Linked DNA regions of Homo sapiens: all the other regions are linked to region 1. Evidence: promoter capture Hi-C in 16 types of primary human blood cells and fetal thymus (Javierre and others, 2016). All regions are on one chromosome and are shown on one strand. Each heading gives the region's core, a stretch centred on a gene start or on the middle of the fragment in contact. The rest is flanking DNA. Distances are from core to core; before and after follow the strand shown.

Region 1 (3,695 bases), core at 1,145-3,644:
GAGAGAACAATGCTTTGCACAAGGTCACACAGCTAGTCATGACCCAATCAGGACTAGAACGCAGGTTGCCTGACTCCCAGTTTTGTGCTCTGTGCACAGGCTGACATCCTCTCAATGACTCTGCAAACTACAGTCATGATGATGCCTCATGCACATGTTTTCACTCCTTTAATATTGAGCTCAATATTAACAGGTATTTACATGATTATGTTTATTGATAAAGCAACTATGTGTGCTACTCTAAGTGACAAATAATGTATGTGGTTTTCAAATGATTTTGACAGTTACATGCCTATAGAAAGCAGGTATTCTAAAATATCCACAGGCCCGGTGCAGTGGCTCATGCCTGTAATCCCAGCACTTTGGGAAATGGAGGTGGAAGGACTGCTTGCGCCCAGGAGTTCGAGACCAGCCTGGGCAACACAGGAGGGAGACCCTGTCTCTAAAAAATAAATAAAATTTATTTTTTATAATAAATAAATGTCTGCAAGAAAAAACTGAGCTCCTTAACCTTAACACATCTGATTTTGATCAGTTGGACTGGGAGACTAAAATGAATGCCTGAGTTTGTGTACTGCCTTCTGTACTCTTCCCTCTCTCAGGCCAGTGTGGAATGAGCACCGTCCATGTGGACATCCTCTAAGCTCCCTGTGTTTAGAGGAGTCCATATTGGAGGAGCCAAAACCTCTTCTTCCTCATCTCCAAGTATTCTATAAAGCAGGACTTTGCAAGCCTGGCTGCTTTTCAAATTCGCCTGGGAAGCATATTAAAATACAGACTCCCGGACCACCCGAGACTCATTTGCAGCTCTGGCGGTTAGACTGGGAATCTGTATTTTTCCTCAGATGCATCAGGTGATTCTGATACGCAACCAGGTTTGCAAAAACCTCGCCTCTAAGGAACCCATCAGGCCTGCCTTCTCCAACAGCTCAGCAGTGCAGCAGTCATCCATTCTTCATTTCCCTCTGGTTGGCTTTTCCTGATATCCCCCCACCCAGCAGTCTTCTTAGCTCTACTCCTTTTGTTTCTTGGTATCCTCCCACTTCTCCCTCCCTCCATTTTAATTTTTCTTGGCTTCTAATCCTTTCTCTCCTGCTATAGACTAAATACCATATTACCTTAAAAGCTTGCCACGTTACCATTGTCCACCATATTCAGCCTTTATTCCTCCCTCAAACAGCCCCCTTCCTCCTTGTTCACCTTCCAGCCTTTCCCCATCTGCCACACACAGCACAAGCGCACACAGACCAAACACATGCCACACACATACCTGACGCATGACCCATTTCAAGCGCGCATGCACACACCACACACACACACCCCTGATAAATCACATACACTAAACACGCACACACCGCGCATGCACACACCACGAGTGCACACACACATCACTATCCACCGGGCACAAAGCTTTTACCTGCTGCTAATCCCGTCTCGGCGTTTTCTCCCACACCCTCATATTTCAAACCTACTCCCGGTGTCATTGGCCTTCCCGTCTTCTCTAGGTCTGGACCTTTTCTCACTCTCGCCCTCCCCCATGCCTCCCTCGGAACACCCTCATTTCCTTCCTAGAACCCGACACTACCCCCTCCTCCTTCCAGGAATCCCCAAGCCCAGGACCTTCGAAAACTACCCCAACAGCCTGGGCTTTGATGTGTCCCCCCTCAACGCCTTCGAGCTTCGTGGTCCCACCCACCCCCGGCTTAAGCGCCTCAGCCTTCTTTCTCTAACCCCCTCCCAGCGCTGTCAGCGCGGGCCGGGGATCCGCGTCCCTGACTGGCCCGCAGCCCCTCTAGAGCGCCTCTTGTTCCCTGCCCGCCCCGGGAGCCTCCCGGCTCTCCGCCTGCCCGCCTACCCGCCTACCCTAGCTCGCCGCCATTCCTCCCTCCACTCAGGGGCGCCCCGCTCCCGCCTCGCCTCTCTCCCGCCCAGCCCCGTGCCGGGGCCCCCTTCTTTTGTCTCCAAGCCCCCCTCGCCGGCCGCGTACCGGGCCCGTAGAATTTGCGGCCTTTGGTCACATCGAACACCTTGCCGTTGATGGCCATGAGTATGCGCGGGTCCTGGACGCCGTCGAAGCGCCGCAGCTCGGCGGGGGTGAAGTCGCGCCGCTTGAGGCGGGGCAGAGGGGGCGGCTCGTCGTCGTCGCTGTCGCCGCTGGCCGCCGGCTGGTCCCCGCGCACGATCTTGTAGAGCAGGAAGATGCAGAGGCCAAGCAGCAGCAGGTTGAGCGGCGACGTGAAAATCTCATGCAGCAGCCCGCCGCTCTCCAGATCGCTTGGGTCGGCGCCAGTCGCCACCACATCCTCGGCAGCCATGATCTCTGGAGTAAAGGTTGGGCCGCGCTAGGCAGGGATCCGGAACTCGCCACTTTCTCCTCCCTCTGAGCGAGCGAGTGGCGCGCGGGGTTCGGCGGCGGCCAAAGACTAGCCGGGGAGGAGGCGGGGCCTGAGGGGCGGAGCCTCCAAGCCCCGCCTCCCCCGAGGCCACCTAAGCGCCCCGCCCTGCTCGGTCCCGCCCCGCAGCCCTCAGGCCCCCTCCAAAGCCTCTAGAGTCCGGCGCCGCTCCCCCGCGGCCGCGCGGTGCCCCCCTCAGTTCTACCTGGGAGGCCCCAGCCCAGCCTCACGCCATCCTCGCGCCATCCTATAGCTGAGCGCGACGCACGCGCTGCCCTCCTCTGAACCCCTTTTTTGCTCCTCGCAGACCGACCCGTTGGGAGGGCCTCGGCATTGCCGGGCTCTGTGCGAGCGCCCCTCCGCCACCTGATGCGCGCCAGACACCGACTCCCTTTCTGTTGCTGCAGGCTTTTCCCTGCCTCCCATTCTGAAGCCCCTCATCTTCCCCCTGCCGTTCCCGGGCCCTCCAAGCTGTCTTAGGAGACAGGAAACTCATTCTTCGAACTCCATTTTCTATGTTAGAGCCCTACACGACTCATTTTCACCTTGGGAACCCCCATTCGCTCTCCTTGATGGCCCTTCCCCAATTCTCCCCCAGATGCTGTGGGACCGACACCCCCGGGATTGCTAAAGTCAGTGCACAACTCTCCCTATTATCTGGGGAAACGAATCTGATCGCCCAGTTAACTTTGGGTTTGTTCTCCGAAAAACCCTTTTGCAATTACTGATTTGCTCAGTCACCAGGCATTAACAAGCAACGTTCTCTTGTTGCTCTTTTTTCCCCCCTCAGAATAATGTGAAAGTTTCTTTGTTTGGCAGCGTTCTTCTATTTGGAGTCTGTCAGGCTACCCTTGGCAGTCACAATAACCCTGAGCTGGAGCCCAGACAAAGGCGGGAGTTTGGAAGGATCCTAGGCCTGGTCCCTTCCTTTCCTAGGTATTTCATCCGGCCTTTGATGTGCTAACAGGCTGCACAGAAGCAGACCTCCACGGAGGAAGGGGTTGCCTCGTCCTAATCTGGCCCTTTTTCTGGTGGCGGGGGGAGGGGAGGAGAAGAAAGGATAGAGAGGGAAACAAATAATTAAAACCAAGCCGTGCACACATCTGCAGCCCAGAGCAGTACTTTTCCACCAAGTGTTCTGTTGGCTTGCACATAACTTACTCCTCCTCCCAACACGCAAGAGACTTGAGTAAAGATTGGCTTCCTACCTCAGAATTCTAAAAATTTCTGGCAAAAACTGCTTCCATCCCTGCCCCCCACATCTTCTTAAATCATTATAAAGTGCAATGAGCCAAACAATCT
Region 2 (3,978 bases), core at 927-3,426, 630 kb before region 1:
TGGGCGGAAAGGGGCTGCTGGACGCAGAAAGCGCCCGGCCTGCGACCCAGAGCCCGGAGAAAGCGGCAGCAGTAGCGACGAAGGCTGCACTGTGGTTCGACCGGAAAAGAAGCGGGTGACCCACAATCCAATGATACAGAAGACCCGTGACAGTGGTAAACAGAAGGCGGCTTACGGCGACTTGAGCAGCGAAGAGGAAGAGGAAAATGAGCCCGAGAGTCTCGGCGTGGTTTATAAATCCACCCGTTCGGCGAAACCCGTGGGACCAGAGGATATGGGAGCGACAGCTGTCTATGAGCTGGACACAGAGAAAGAGCGCGATGCACAAGCCATCTTTGAGCGCAGCCAGAAGATCCAGGAGGAGCTGAGGGGCAAGGAGGATGACAAGATCTATCGGGGAATCAACAATTATCAGAAATACATGAAGCCCAAGGATACGTCTATGGGCAATGCCTCTTCCGGGATGGTGAGGAAGGGCCCCATCCGAGCGCCCGAGCATCTACGTGCCACCGTGCGCTGGGATTACCAGCCCGACATCTGTAAGGACTACAAAGAGACTGGCTTCTGCGGCTTCGGAGACAGCTGCAAATTCCTCCATGACCGTTCAGATTACAAGCATGGGTGGCAGATCGAACGTGAGCTTGATGAGGGTCGCTATGGTGTCTATGAGGATGAAAACTATGAAGTGGGAAGCGATGATGAGGAAATACCATTCAAGTGTTTCATCTGTCGCCAGAGCTTCCAAAACCCAGTTGTCACCAAGTGCAGGCATTATTTCTGCGAGAGCTGTGCACTGCAGCATTTCCGCACCACCCCGCGCTGCTATGTCTGTGACCAGCAGACCAATGGCGTCTTCAATCCAGCGAAAGAATTGATTGCTAAACTAGAGAAGCATCGAGCTACAGGAGAGGGTGGTGCTTCCGACTTGCCAGAAGACCCCGATGAGGATGCAATTCCCATTACTTAGGTTTCCCATAATTCTTAAATTTAAAAAATAAACGTTTTGTTCTTTTGGAAGTCTTACTTCGTGTCCTTCCTTTGTAGAGAAAGTGACAGAGCAGGCGGGTGGTGAAGTAGGGTCCTGGATTAAAAGCTTCAAGGTAGGTATAATCAGGATTTTTAGCCCTAGGATAACCATTTTGCCTGTGTTTCTTTTCAGAACACTTTGGCATAAATTATAGGGGTGGGAGTAGTTTGAGAAAAGAGCTATAATTTGCTCGAAGTAACCAAAGCCATGATGAAAGCAAGACCTCTGAGCCTGTTTATTATATCACATTTCTGTATCACTTAATAGTTTACAAAGTACTTTCATGCATTCTTTCTCTTGGGAGCCTGTACTACAAAATATACCCGAGCCAAGGTGTTGGGGAGAGGGGTTGTGTTTGGGGAACTGGTAGCTAGCACCACAGGCTTCACATATGGGAAATGTTCCTTGCTGTCTTGGTTATTTATTTATTTATTTGTTTTTGAGACGGAGTCTCGCTCTCTTGCCCAGGCTAGAGTGCAGTGGCGCGATCTCAGCTCACTGCAACCTCCGCCTCCCCGGTTCAAGCGATTCCCCTGCCTCAGCCTCCCGCGTAGCTGAGACTACAGGCGCATGCCACCACACCCGGCTATTTTTTTTTTTTTTTTTTGTATTTTTAGTAGAGACGGGGTTTCACCATACTAGCCAGGATGGTCTCGATCGCCTGGCCTCGTGATCCACCTGCCTTGGCCTCCCAAAGTGCTGGGATTACAGGTGTGAGCCACCGAGCCCGGCTCCCTTGCTGTCTTGGAAGCAGCTATAGTTAACCCCCACGTCCATGGGTGATAAAAGTATCTGTGCTCAGCTATCCAGTGTGACAGACACTAGCCCCAGGTGGCTATTGAGCACTTGAAATGTGTCTGACCACTGTATTGGACATTACTATTGTAGACAGAACTCGTGAACCTGCAGAGGTCAAAAACAATATTTTATCATCCATTACCTGAAACTATCTGTGTTCTCACAGTCTCTGTAATAGTGCTGATCACACCTTATTAAAATTAGTCAATGTACCTGTCTCTCCAACTGGTTTATGAACTCAGTGACTAGCCTAGTGCTTGGCATATAATAAGCACTTAATAAATAAGCCTAGAGAGGTTTAAAAAGGGAGATTGGGGCCAAAGCCTTGAATCCAAGCTGAGGAGCGTTGACTGTATTCTGTAGGCAGCGGGGGAGATAGCAGAGGTTTGGGAAGAGAACACAATCAGACTTGGGTTTTTTTGTTTGTTTGTTTGTTTTAGTGTTACTGTGGTTGCGGCTATAGGATGGCTCACAAGGGAGATGGAACACGAGGCCGGGAGGCCAGTTAGGCCAAATGATTAGTAAATTTTTATTGATATGGCTAGAATTTGGGCTAATCCCACGAAACAGATGCAAGAATAAATTCTGGGTTAGTGGTTTTTATTCACATTCATTAATCCATTTAAAGATATTCTTTTTTTTTTTTTTTGAGACAGAGTCTTGCTCTGTTGTCTAGGCTGGAGTGCAGTGGCGCGATCTTGGCTCATTGCAACCTCCGCCTCCCAGGTTCAAGCAATTCTCCTGCCTCAGCCTCCCGAGTAGCTGGGACTACAGACGTGCACCACCACACCCAGCTAATTTCTGTATTTTTAGTAGAGACAGGGTTTCACCATATTGGTCAGGCTGGTCTTGAACTTCTGACCTCGTGATCCGCCCGCCTCGGCCTCCCAAAGTGCTGGGATTACATGCATGAGCCACTGCGCCTGGCCTAAAGATATTCTTTGAGTAGCTACTCTAAATCAGGCACTGTGCTTGGCATGGGGGATATTAGCAGTGAACAAGATGGACACAGCCCCTGCCCTCATGGAGCTGGACATTAAATAATGACTGTTTGTTTGTTTTTGAGACAGAGTCTCGCTGTGCCACCCAGGCTGGAATGCAGTGGCATAATCTCAGCTCACTGTAACCTCCACCTCCCAGGTTCAAGCAATTCTCCTGCCTCAGCCTCCTGAGCTGGTCTCGAACTCCTGACCTCATGTGATCCACCCGCCTGGGCTTCCTAAAGTGCTGAGATTACAGGCCACCGTGCCCTGCCTGTTTCGTTTCTTTTAATTTCAAATAGGATCTCCTATGTTGCCCAAGCCCATCTCAAACTCCTGGCTTCAAGCAATCCTCCCGCCTCAGCTTCCCAACATGCAGGGATTACAGGCGTAAGCCACCATACCTGGCCTAGGAAAGCATTTGGAAAAGTGTCATGTCCTACACAAAGCTTCGGACGAAAAGGAAATAAATGAAAAGTGTCACGGAGGCAAGGCGCAGTGGCTCACGCCTGTAATCTCAGCACATTTAGAGGCTGAGATGGGAGGATCACTTGAGGCCAGGAGTTGGAGACCAGCCTGGGCAACAGGGAGACCCCCGTCTCTACAAAAAACAAGCAAAAATTTTAGCTGGGTGTGGTGATGTGCACCTGTAGTCCCAGCTACTCAGGAGGCTGAGGTGGGAGAATCCCTTGAACCCAGAAGATCAAGGCTGCAGTGAGCCATGATTGCGCTACTACACTCCAACCTGGGTGACAGGAGTGAGACCCTGTCTCAAAAAAAAAAAAAAAGAGAGAAAAATATGGCAATGAGTAGCAAAAGAACCAGAAAAAATGTTCATTTTTTTAACTATTTCTGATAATTTATACTAAAAAAGTTATTCAGGGTTGGGCACAGTGGCTCATGCCTGTAATCCCAGGACTTCATGAGGCCAAGATTAGAGGATCACTTGAGCTCAGGAGTTTGAGAACAGCATGGGCAACATAGCAAGACTCCCATCTCTAAAAAATAAAAATAAAAAAAGTTATTCAAAAGTAGAATAAAGTGTTATGGAAAAAGATATACTTTGAATTGTTATCTATTATATAAGCTGAGAGAAAAGGTCCAGGAGAAAACACAGATGATAAAAGGTGAAAGAATGCTGCTGATGACTAAATTCTAGGAGGTAGAACAGAG
Region 3 (3,589 bases), core at 936-3,435, 890 kb after region 1:
CAAAATAAGCTTTGTGTAAAGTTAACAAATTTGCCAATGCCAAGAAAGGAAGGAGAAAAGCATGAACATTTTGAATGCTTTCTCTGTGCCCAGGTACTGGACTAGACAGTTTACACAGGTCCTGATATAACTTGCGTCCTTTGAAATTAAACTTATTCAGTGGAAAGAACAATATCCACAGAGTAGTTCTAAACTGATCAGCTCATAAACTGATGATTTCCCTCCCCCACCCCAATACACACACACAAAAGTACCAAAGGACTTGGTGTCTCATTCAATCTGAATTGTCAGTTCATTACTTTGAAGGGAAAACCACACACACAAAAATTAAGTTTCACGGAAGTCCAATACATTTCAAAACCCAAATGTATTTCCTATGCTCTACACCTAGCTCTAAACTTGTCTCAGATATTGAACTTGAAGGAGATTCGGTGTCATCTCAAGATTGGCCACTGCCACCCCAAAATCCCACAACAGTGACATGAAGGTTGGTGGAAAGACAAACATCTGAAATCTACCAACGTACATTGCTTTCTGATTTTATTACTGTAACTTTTTGGTGCATATTGTGTATAAACATACATTAGTTTTTAGAATGACTTCTAGCATGCATGGCTAACTATACTTGCATCACAGCGGGTTATTACTCCCACGGAGTAAGTGTGAGAATTGAAGGCAGTGAACTTCTCGAACCATATTAGTCCTTTATACTAACATCTACATTTTACCAATCCTCAAGTTCTTACAGCATGAAAATATATTTCACTGCCTCTATTTCCACGTACATTCGTAGGGGAGTTCGGCGAAATCGCTTTAAAGCACTACCCCAACTTTGAAAAGTGGAGAAGTGGGTAAGTAAATACAAGTCCTAGTCAAGCGAGCATTCCAACTACTGTACTTCCTATTCAGAATCACCCATATTAATCACCACTAAAACATCTTGCAGAATTAGATAAAGAACACAAAGCTGGGGCTCTCCTTCCAATCACCAGATTACTCAGCACTTGTTTGTCCCTCTGCAGTCAGTTGTGCACATTTCTTCTGTCTGGCCATCCTTTTAGACCGCATTCTGCCTAATAGGGACCGTGTATTCGATTTCCTTTACCTCACGATAAGGTGTTATTTTAATAAAACACTGTTGATCTAGAGTACATTCGCTAGAGGACTTTCTTAAGCAAATACCCAACCTTCCCCCCGCTCCTTTTCGCTGTGTGCAAGAAAAAGAGGACGGCAAATAGGGGAGAGTTACAGCCACCTCTGAAGTGAATAGGTAAGTTAGCGGTAAACGGGAGAATAAAAAACTACAAGTTACATTTCTCCTGTTACTGCTCCTTTAATCTACGGTCCCCGAGGCCAAAACGGATGTTTGAAAGGTAAGCTCAGAACCCCACAGATACAAATCTCCGACTCAGGCACGTAAGCTGTTCCCCCTCACAGAAGGCTGGATCAGAAGAGAAACGGGCTCCGAGACCGACCCTGGGACCGTTCAGTAGGGAAACGGCCGGGAGGCTGCCCGAGGTGGCTGACTCCCCCTTCTCCGAGTCACCCCGCCCTAAGAAGCCCCAGGTCTGGGTTCTGAAGTCCTCCAGTGAGACGGGGAGGAACAGCGGTGGCGGACACAGCGGGACCTGGGAGGGGTGTAGGGGGAAGACACAGGAGATGCGGGGGGCTTGGGATGCCCGGCTTCCTGTCATAGCTGCAGTCACTTACCCCACGGGGTAGCCGCCCCCTAGGTGCACATCTTCAGGGGCATCATAGAATTCCTCGGTGTCGCTTTCCGACGCCATTTATAGGACACACCCGCGGGTGAGGGGGCCGGCGCCGCCTGGAGGAAGGGTGACTCTTGTCTCCTCCTCGTCGACCTCCACCCGGGCGAGACTGGGGAAGTGGGTCTCGGGCGAGGCTGAGGGAGCAGACGATCTGTAGCGAGGAGACTGTTAAGGAAAGGGGGCCGCCCTCAGTTGCCGGGCTTCGGGAATGACCGGCAAAGCGGCCGCCTGAAGAGGCGGCGGTTGGTCCAGGGAATGTTGCTGCCACCGCTCCCAGTGATAGGTGTATAAGGAGCGCGAAAGAGGCGGTGGCTCCTCGCAGTAAGGGAAGAAGGGCGCGCCGGCTACAGCGGCTCCAGTTTCTCCCGCAGCAGCAATTTACAGCAGCTGGAAGAGCTAGTTGCCCGCAAAATACCGACGCGCACCTACCCTCGCGAGATTTCGGAGGGGCGGTAATACGTGGGCGGGGCGAAGAGGTGGCGGGGGCGGTTCCAGAGAGGCAGCGCTCCGATTACTTCGGCCCGAGAAGCCTATCAAAACGGCGCAAGCGCGTTGAGGGCGTTCGGTGAGGGCCGGAAGTAGCCGAGAAGGGAGGGGGTGAGCCTCCCGAAGGGAGGAGTCTAGGACCTGCGCAGGAGCAGCGTGGTGCCCTGGCTCTGAGAGCGCGCGGCCGACGTAGGTGGGGTCAGGCAGAAAGTCTTACTCCCTAACTCTGCAGTTCCAAAGAGACGCGTTTTGAGAGGGGTGATTTTGAGTCGGTCTTTTACTTGTAAAGAAATACTCTCGGGAAACGTTGGTGTGGACATTTTGGCGTATATTTACGATGTCTTACTATCCAAGCCCGGAATGTCCCACCCTAGGGCGTCGGCAGGTCCACCACCTCTGGCGTTACGAGAATAACTCGCCCTTATTCACTACGAGATCTCTAATTGAGATCCCTAGATATGATCCTGCCGGCCAGAGGGTGGGGTCCTTGAGATATACACGGGGAGTGTGCCAGTTCCATGGTGTAATGATGGATTTATTGCTGGAGCTGAGCCAGTATTAGGCCTCCGGTTACTTTTTCTCCGCACATGTCTGTCGCTGCCAACACAGTGTGAGAGAAGTTCTTACATACTGCCCAAGATGTGCGTCAGCTAAATGGTAAATATTTATTGAGCAGATATCATTGCAAGCCTACGAGCTAATGGCTTAATTCTGATCCTCAACTGCCCAGCGTCCGGTGATAAAAATAGAAAGGTACTTTTTAAAAAACCGAGATGTTCCTTCTTAAACCACGGGTCATTGACCATCAAGGTGATAACATTGACTTTCAGTATGATCACACAGCATATTTATTTCTCCAACTGACATCATGATAGGCATTTTGAGCTGTTCGTGCAGCCTCAATTAGTATTCAAGAAAAGGCTGGATTGGAGCCAGGGGTATGGTCTCAGAGAAACTGGAAAGGGGCTCTAGACTTTGTCAAGCAATCAGGGCAAGGTCTGCTGTGGTCTAGTGGACTTGGGTAAAAACCAAATGTCATATACTGTATATTCTATAATACCCCAGGGAGTTTAGGGAAAACACTGCGTAATCAAATATATTAATATTTTTGCAGCAAGATATATGATTGTTCATACGGGATAAATAAATACAAGTAAATAGCCTCATTCAGTTTGAGTCAGACGCTTCTGCCAAATAAGTTTAAGATAGATCTATTTGACTGTCAAATAAATTACTAAAAAAAAAAAAAAACAGAAACTTGGTTTCCAGAGCTTTTGAAGTTTCAGAATTGGAGACAAGGGATTTGTGGATCCTTGTGAGGGTATGACTTTTGT

The links. The method cuts DNA at HindIII sites, captures the fragments that hold promoters and counts their contacts. A CHiCAGO score of 5 or more calls a contact.
Region 2: a fragment that was not itself captured here is called in contact with the fragment with the promoter of PGRMC1 in region 1 in 1 of 17 cell types (fetal thymus); the score reaches 5.8 in fetal thymus.
Region 3: the fragment with the promoter of WDR44 here is called in contact with the fragment with the promoter of PGRMC1 in region 1 in 3 of 17 cell types (monocytes, naive CD4 T cells and activated CD4 T cells); the score reaches 8.8 in monocytes.

What each region holds. Positions count from the first base shown.
Region 1 is chrX:119,234,984-119,238,678 of GRCh38, reverse strand. It overlaps PGRMC1 (progesterone receptor membrane component 1), which reads right to left and starts at 2,394. Exons shown (of 3, transcript NM_006667.5): 1 at 1,988-2,394. The coding sequence starts at 2,315. It also overlaps the pseudogene NUDT19P6. RefSeq lists silencers at 1,782-1,931, 2,332-2,591, 2,622-2,671. The HindIII fragment of the contact is 8,490 bases long and covers 1,413-3,695 here.
Region 2 is chrX:119,867,571-119,871,548 of GRCh38, reverse strand. RNF113A (ring finger protein 113A) reads left to right here. Exons shown (of 1, transcript NM_006978.3): 1 at 1-1,074. The coding sequence ends at 967. Among named protein-coding and RNA genes, the nearest start is that of RNF113A, 2.2 kb to the left of the region's middle. RefSeq lists an enhancer at 1-103. The HindIII fragment of the contact is 2,161 bases long and covers 1,096-3,256 here.
Region 3 is chrX:118,344,702-118,348,290 of GRCh38, reverse strand. WDR44 (WD repeat domain 44) reads right to left here and starts at 2,185. Exons shown (of 20, transcript NM_019045.5): 1 at 1,711-2,185. The coding sequence starts at 1,787. RefSeq lists enhancers at 1-14, 1,510-2,053, 2,595-2,644, 2,835-2,954. The HindIII fragment of the contact is 5,332 bases long and covers 12-3,589 here.